Linked DNA regions of Homo sapiens: regions 2 and 3 are each linked to region 1. The links are contacts of gene promoters, found by promoter capture Hi-C in blood cells and fetal thymus (Javierre and others, 2016). All regions are on one chromosome and are shown on one strand. The core of a region is centred on a gene start or on the middle of the fragment in contact, and the rest is flanking DNA. Distances in the headings are between cores, read along the strand shown. Region 1 holds the start of CNTRL (centriolin). Region 2 has its middle 23 kb from the start of GSN. Region 3 holds the start of RAB14 (RAB14, member RAS oncogene family).

What was found. The method cuts DNA at HindIII sites, captures the fragments that hold promoters and counts their contacts. A CHiCAGO score of 5 or more calls a contact.
Region 2: a fragment that was not itself captured here is called in contact with the fragment with the promoter of CNTRL in region 1 in 1 of 17 cell types (total B cells); the score reaches 5.2 in total B cells.
Region 3: a contact is called between a fragment that was not itself captured here and the fragment with the promoter of CNTRL in region 1, in 9 of 17 cell types (total B cells, naive B cells, naive CD4 T cells and 6 more). The highest score is 8.8, in total B cells.

Annotation. Positions count from the first base shown.
Region 1 is chr9:121,073,657-121,076,306 of GRCh38, reverse strand. CNTRL (centriolin) reads right to left here and starts at 1,352. Exons shown (of 44, transcript NM_007018.6): 1 at 1,240-1,352. It also overlaps a transcript of C5 not described here. RefSeq lists silencers at 948-1,087, 1,208-1,267, 1,892-2,088 and an enhancer at 1,388-1,777. The HindIII fragment of the contact is 4,047 bases long and covers 380-2,650 here.
Region 2 is chr9:121,244,011-121,246,660 of GRCh38, reverse strand. It overlaps a transcript of GSN not described here. Among named protein-coding and RNA genes, the nearest start is that of GSN, 23 kb to the left of the region's middle. The HindIII fragment of the contact is 2,069 bases long and covers 308-2,376 here.
Region 3 is chr9:121,201,663-121,204,312 of GRCh38, reverse strand. RAB14 (RAB14, member RAS oncogene family) reads left to right here and starts at 2,444. Exons shown (of 8, transcript NM_016322.4): 1 at 2,444-2,650. It also overlaps a transcript of GSN not described here and the pseudogene RN7SL181P. RefSeq lists enhancers at 1,863-2,022, 2,293-2,512, 2,331-2,650 and a silencer at 2,523-2,650. The HindIII fragment of the contact is 7,258 bases long and covers 1-2,650 here.

The sequences.
Region 1 (2,650 bases), core at 103-2,602:
CCATCTCTTTCCATTAATTATTCAATTTTATTGAGCAACTTTTATGTAGGAAGAACCATGCTAGAATCTAAGCTCAAGATGCAGAAGATTTTATCTCCCTATTACCCATGATCTCTGCACCAAGCAGTCTCCTTCATAGCATTTTATAACCATTATTTGTGAAACTACTTGGTTGTTGCCTGTTTCTCCTTCTAGACTATAAGCTACAAGAGAGCAGAGGTTTTGTCTGTTGTTCTATAAACAATAAATATTTGTTGACTGAAGGACTGTACTAAACACTTAGACAATACCAAATTTAAATCCTCAAAGATTTAGCTGTATAGGATCAGAATTATTAACCTGATTTACAAATGGCAATGTACCTGAACAGTTAAAAGCTTGGATTCTGGAACGAAACAGCCTGAGTTCAAATTCTGATTTTCCACTTACTGTGTGATCTTAGGCAAATTACTTAACCTCTCTGGTCCTCAGTGCTATCACTTTTTAAATGGGGATGATAACCTCATACAAGTTATTTTAAATTCTAAATGAGGTTAATACGTGCAAAGTGCTTAAAACTGGATCTGACAAATAGTGAACACCCAAAAATGATTCGCAATTATTTGGACAAATGAGGAAACATGATCAGGAAGGCTCAGACACATATCCAGGGTCACAGACCTGGTTAAGTTACACAAGGTGGCAGAATTGAGGCTTCAACCCAAGTTTGTCTGGCTTCAAAATTCTCTAGTCCCTTAACGAATATAACGGAAGTGTTTGTTCTTCCCCTTCTTTTAGCATTTCGTCCCCATATCCTGTCATCTTTCTCCACGCACTGTACTCCGTCCGATACCGTGACAACCCGTCAGGACGCCCAAACTGTCCTTTCTCCCGCTCACTCCCCACAGACAGCTGGCACATCCCAGCTCTCCCCTCAGCTCAGGTGGCAGGACCCACAACCTTCTGGGCGCCGCACCCTAACTTCCACACCTCCCCACACTCTGGTTCTTCATCCCCAATCGCCCCCGCCGTCCCCACCTCTTCCCATCCAAACCTCCCTCCTTCATCCACCGCCCCACGCCCGTTCCGGGCCCTCCCCTCTTTCCCGTCCAATCCCAATTCCCAGACACGCGCCCCCGCCCCGAATCCATCCCAAGCCGGCCCACACCACGCCCGGTCCGGGCCTTCCCGCCTTTGCCGCCGGCCCCCACTGCTCGGGCCGGATGCCGGGGAACGGGCTCGGCCAGGTCTGACGCTCACCGCCTAGAAGCCGAGCCGAGCAGTCCCGCAGGCTGAGGTAGAGCGGGAGAAGTTCGGGCTCTTTCCTCAGGGGCCCAGCGGCGCGGCAGCCATTTTGTTGTGTTGTGCCGGTTGCCGAGGGGCCGCGCGCGCGTGGTCGGGGCTAGTCTCAGCCACGCCCCTCTCCCTCTCCGGTACTGTTGGAAGGGACGCGGAGGCGTTTCCCGCCTCTTTTGCAGCCAGCGCGCTAGGATGCCGGGGAGTCTTGGGCGCGAGGCTTCCGGCCGCGCGGGGCCGACGGGATGCGGTGCCTTCGCCTTCGGATTGCGTTGCAGGTGAAGTGTCGGGTGCAGAGTCAGGGGGAGCCGAGGTTTCATGCGGCAGCTGCCCGCAGTGCTGTGGCCTTCGCTGAGACAAAGCTGCCGCCGCCACCCTCTGAAACACGGACACGCTTCTCAGGGCCTGTGTCCGAGGACGGCCTGAGGCACCGGCGCAGCGCCTCCCCGGCCTCCCCCACTTCTGATGCTTGCGCGCTATGAGCGAGTGTTCTTATCAGCACACTTCTCTCTGACAGTCGTATCTAAAGCGAATTCCCTCCAGGGACCGAACTGCCCAGGCTCGGATGAACCTCAAAGCGGACGCAGCCTGGGCTCCAGCTGTCGCGTGAGGTTCAGGGAGCTTGGGAATCCTAGGCAGAGGATGTTCCTCTGATTGCTACAAGGGAGTTAAAGCAAGAAGCACTTGCACAGGCTTCATCTGGGGCTTGCCCATGAGCACGGCGTTCACGACATGCATTCAACAGATATTTTAAAGAATTTAGCAGATACTGGGCTGGATGCTAGGGAAACACTGAAGTTTTTTTTAAAGTGTTATCACCATTGACGCCTTTCACTCCAGTAGCCTCCCGTTTTGAAGGTATACCCTGGACCATGTTACCATCAGAGGCTGCACCCGCTCCAGAAATCCCCAGTGCAATCGCTCCCCATCCTTGACTATAATCCTATCATCTTAGCAGCGTGCCTGCTCAAAAGACCCCTATGCCAGCGTATTTCTAAACTTCCTTGCGTCTTCCAGTCCCTTGTTCTTACCATTTTCTCGCGATCATTCTATCCTGTCTTCATTTCCTTTCTTCACTACAGAGTTTATAGGCCACCTGTATAACACTTTTAGAAACTCCCTCTCTCTCTGTGTCTCAGTTTCCTTATCTATGAAATGAGGTCCTTTTACCTATTAACACTTCCTACAGTTTTCCTGATAATTATAAAAGTGAATCCTGGCCGGGCGCTGTGGCTCATGCCTGTAATCCCAGCACTTTGGGAGACCAAGGTGGGAGGATCACTTGAGGTCAGGAATTCAAGATCAGCCTGGCCAACAAGGTGAAACGCCGTCTCTACTAAAAATACAAAAATTACCCGGGCGTGGTGGCGCACGC
Region 2 (2,650 bases), core at 93-2,592, 170 kb before region 1:
AGCTGGAGAAAGGATATGGAGGGACCTGATATTGTGAACTATGTTCTTCATGAGTCTTGGTGGCACTTCTGTCCTAGAATTCTGAATTTCCATAATAAATCTCTAAATTTTGCCTAAACTATGCTAAGGTTTCTATTAGTTGCAACCAAAAAAGTCTCATGAATATACATGGATAAACCCTAGTTTCAATATTTGTGTCCATGATAATTGCCTCATTTTCGCATTAACTAGCTTTATAATTAAGTTAAGAAATTTGAATTCATAGAAATGGAATACCTATCAAATTGGATGCTTTAGGCCTCAAGCTTGCTCTTTCATTCTCACAAAGTGACTGCAGCAGCTCTGAGCATAGCATCCTCAGACAACTATCTTCACATCTCCTTTTTAAAAAAAAAACTTTTTTATTATGGAAAATGTTAAAACCACTCAAATGTAGAAAGAGTAGTATAATGATCCTAATGTGCCCACCACCCAGCTTTTACAATTGCCACTAAATACTCATCCTGAATCATCTACGTGTTCACATACCTTTCCTTTCCCTGCCCTCAGATAATTTTGAGGCAAATCTTAGATATATTATTTCTTCTATAAATATTTCAGAATATATCTCTAAAAGGTACAAGTTCTTTTTAAAAAATACAATACCATTATCACAGTTTAACATATTGACAATCATTTCTGAGTTTCAGTAAATATACTATAACATTTATATTTCTCTGGTTGTCTTTTAAATGCGTTTTTCAAGCTGGGCACGGTGGCACACATCTGTAGTCCTAGCTACTCAAGAGGCTGAGGCAAGAGGGTCACTTGAGCCCAACAGTTCAAGGCTATAGAGAGCCATGATTGCACCTGTGAATAGCCTCTGCACTCCAGCCTGGGCAACTTAGCAAGACCTCGTCTCTTTTTTAAAAAGTGTTTTTCTTTTCACAGTTTACTTGAATTTCAATTATTTTTAGTAGGCATAGCTAGGAGATGTATATTGTTTTCTAAAGATAAAAGGGACAAAGCTCAGTGGTTCATGCCTATAATCCCAATTCTTTGGGAGGCCGAGGCAGGAGCATCGCTTGAGCTCAGGAGTTTGAGACCAGCCTGGGCAACAAAGTGAGACCTTGTCTCTAATAATATGTTTTTAAAAAATTAACTGGGCATGGTGGTGCACACCTGTAGTTCCAGCTACTAGAGGGGCTGAGGCATGAGGATTGCTTGAGCCCAGGAGGTCAAGGCTGCAGTGAGCCCTGATCATGCCACTGCACTCCTGCATGGGTGACAGAGTGAGACCCTGACTCAAAATGAAAGAAAGAAAGAAAGAAAAGGTATAATGCATCCATACTGATACTTCCAATTGAAGTGGAGGACTATAGACTTTTTGCTCAATCTTATCAATCTTAGATTTATATCTCCTATCAACTATGCCAAATATCTTAATTTTTAAGGACATCAACATAATTATTATTTTCATCCTGTAATACACAGCTCTTTTTGCCAGATATAGTCTTCTAGGAGTATAGAATCGAATGATAGTGATTTAAGGTCACTAAAGTCTTCTTTGTGTGGTTACGTCATCAACTGGACACACAGGGTCATTTTAATTTAACATTATTTTTACTTTCTAGGAATTTGATTTTTTCTTAATTTTGCATGTAATTACATAAAATGTTTACATTGTTCCAAAGTTAAATCTACTTTTTTTTTAGAAGCTAGCTTCTAAAGCTATATTTTTAGAAGCCTAGCTTCCATCCCTGTACCTTCCTTTCTATTCTTTCCCTTTTGCTATGGGAATATTTTATTAAATTTTTATAGTTTTTCTCTTATTTGTAGATAAATGATTGCATACTATACATACTTTTCTCTTTTTACTTAAAAATATATCCTGGAGATCACACATAGTAGTGGAGTAATTTCTTGTCCCTTGTAGTAGCTGCATAATACTTCATTTGGGGGATGTACCATCATTTATTCAATTAGTTTTCCATCGATTAAAATTTGAGTTTCCATTTTCTTGCTATTACAAATAGAGCTGCAGTGGCTAGCCTTGCACATGCACCTTTTTATATTTTTGCTACTGCATATTTGTGATAGCTATCTAGAAGTGGGATTACTATACCACTGCCTACCTCTCAGAATGGCTAAAATTAAGAGAAAGAAAACTGACAATGCTAAATGCTGATGAGGTTGTGGAGCAACTGGAACTCTCATACATTACTAGTGGGAATGCAAAATGGTGCAGCCACTTTGGAAAACATTTTGCCAGTCTCTTATAAAATGTAACATGCAATATATTTATAATACGGCCAACAATCCTTTTCCTACATATTTACTCAAGAGACATGAAAACATATTTTCACATTTGTCTGTACCTGAACATTTATAGAAGCTTTATTCATAATCACCAAAAACTAGAAGCAATTCAAGTTTCTTTCATCTGATGAATACATTGTGATACATCTATTTAATCTAATTGCTACCCAATGATAAAAAGGAACAAACTTCTGACCCACTACAACATGGATGAATTTCAAATGCACTGTGCTAAGGGAAAGAAGCCAGATTTAAAAAGCTACATATGCTATGATTCCATTTATACATTCTCAAAAAGACAATATTACAGGGACAGAGAACAGACCAGTGGTTGCCAGGGGCTAAGCCAAGG
Region 3 (2,650 bases), core at 88-2,587, 130 kb before region 1:
CTGAGGTCACATGTTGCCAGATTTAAGTCCCACCCAATTTTCACCTAAACGACTTTAGATCTGTATGACACTCAGTTTTTTCATTCATAAAATGGGGTAAATATAGTACTGACTTCATGCGGATGTGGTAAGGATTAAATGAGAAAATATGCATGATTCTTAGGACAGTTGCTGGTACATAGTAAGTGTTGAATAAACATCAGCTATACATAAAGATCTCCCTTCAGGTGATAATGGCTATAAGGAAACTTACTAGCCAGGTCTAAGTTCATACCTGGGCAATTAATGATCATTGGTTCACAGTTTTCTCCTTTACTTGGCACAGGCAAATTTCTTAGTTTCAAAAATGTTAAAGTGTGACAACAAACTATACTTATTAAAGAATGTGGAAATAGAAGCCTAGACCTCTAGGGTTGCAAAAGGATTTCAATATCACCTTAGATTAGATTATCATGTAATAATCATTTCCATTTCTTATTATATACCAGATATTTTGCATATACTATCCCATTTAATTTTCACAAAGACCTATTTGAGAGAGATATTACTATTTTCATATTGCAGAAAAGACTGACAATCTCAGAAATCAAGTGACATGCACAACTGCATACCATTAGATTATAGAGCAGGAATTCGAACCCAGGTCTCTGAAAATATGAGATGTACAAACTGGCACACACTTTTACAGTGAAATCTCACTTGTTCATGGCAGAACCAGTTCATAAAAGGTCCTGAACGCTAAGAGAAAGATTGATTTAATTTGGGGGTGGGGAACTAAGGCAGGGCCACCTTATCCATTAGGCACAGTACAGTATGCACAGGGCTTAGGGCCTCCAATACTTTTAGGGGCCAACAAAAATGAATATTTATTTATTTTAGAGACAGGGTCTCCCCATGTTGCCCAGGCTGGAGTGCAGTGGCTGTTCACAGGTATGATCCCATTACTGATCAGCACGGGAGTTTTGACCTGCTCCATCTCCGACCTGGGCCGGTTCATCCCTCCTTAGGCAACCTGGGTGGTCCCTCCCTCCTGAACTTAAGTGCAGACACTCTATCTAGTGACACAGTGCACTACAGCCCAGAACTCCTGGGCTCAAGCGATCCTCTCTCCTCAGCCTCCCCAGTAGCTAGGATTACAGGCGCAGACTACCAGCCCTCCTTGCTTACGTTCCTTTTTTTTTTTTTTTTGAGACAGTCTCGCTCTGTTGCCCAGGCTGGAGCGCAGTGGCGCGATCTCGGCTCACTGCAAGCTCCGCCTCCCGGGTTCACGCCGTTCTCTTGCCTCAGCCTCCCGAGTAGCTGGGACTACAGGCGCCCGCCACCACGCCCGGCTAATTTTTTTGTATTTTTAGTAGAGACGGGGTTTCACCGTGTTAGCCAAGATGGTCTCGATCTCCTGACCTCGTGATCCGCCCGTCGTGGCCTCCCAAAGTGCTGGGATTACAGGCGTGAGCCACCGCGCCCGGCCGGCTTACATTCTTTTAAAGTCAGAAGAAAAAAATGAACTTTCAGGTCAGAGAAAATATTTTGTTATATAATATTGATACGTCATGTTTATATCAATGCAGTTGTAAAATATGTTAAATATTTATACATATATTTAACTTACATGTGTGTGAAATATATGTGTGTGTGTAATGTACAAGCCACAAGGCAAAAGTGCTCAGGGTCCAAGAAAGTCAAAACGTGTCCCTGCACCCGAAAAGCACGAAACCTTCTGGGGCAGTGATTATGGCAGAGCAAGTTGGAAGATGGCAGGTGGTAGACAAATTGTGAAAAATATCACATTTCTCTCACCCTGTCAAAGGCAACCCCAAAGTGAAGTCAAAATAGAGATGAAATGCAGGGTCACTTCCTAGCTGCGTGATCTTGGACAAGAGAGTTGACCAACCTGAGCCTCAGTTTCTCCATGGATACAATGGGGATGCGTGCCTCCGACGTTTGTTGGACAGGACCGGTATATACGAAGCATACAGCGGTATATACAGTAAATGCCCCCATAAATACACGTTGAATGAATGCAGTAAATGCATGCTTAGCATGGTGGCCAGTATACGGTAAGCGTCCAATAAGTGGTAAATGTTGGCTTTAAAAATTGTTCAAAAGTCTCCACGAGCGACAACCCTAGTTCTCCAAGACGCAGGCGCACCCCACCAGGTTCCACGCAGACCTGCGCAGTAGCTCCCCCAAGAGGCGAGGACACGCGACTGCGCTTGCGCATACGCGCTTTCCACCTTCCCTCCGGGCGCGAGCGCCCGTGGGGCGGGCCTCAGCGGCGGCGCGACAAGTCCAGAGGTGAGGGCTGAGGAAGGGGCGTGGCTAGCGGGCTGGCCTCAGCCACCCTCTTCCGGGCTCCGCCAGCTGCGCGCGCATCTTCTCCCCCTTCTTTTGTGGTCCGGCCCATTGCGAGGGTGACAGGAAACCCTGTGCAGGGAGCGCCGCCATCTTGGACCAGCCCGAGGAAGATACTGAGGGAGCACAGGAGCAGTCACCGCTGCCACTGCTACTGCCGCTACTGCTGCCGGCGCGTCTGCACCTCTCGGCCTGCCAGTGTACCTGCCGGCGCCTCGGTCGACCGCCCCCGCCCCCTCTCCCGCTGCGTCCGCACTCCTGTTCCTGGTCCTGACGCCCCCCTCCCGCCCGGAAAGCT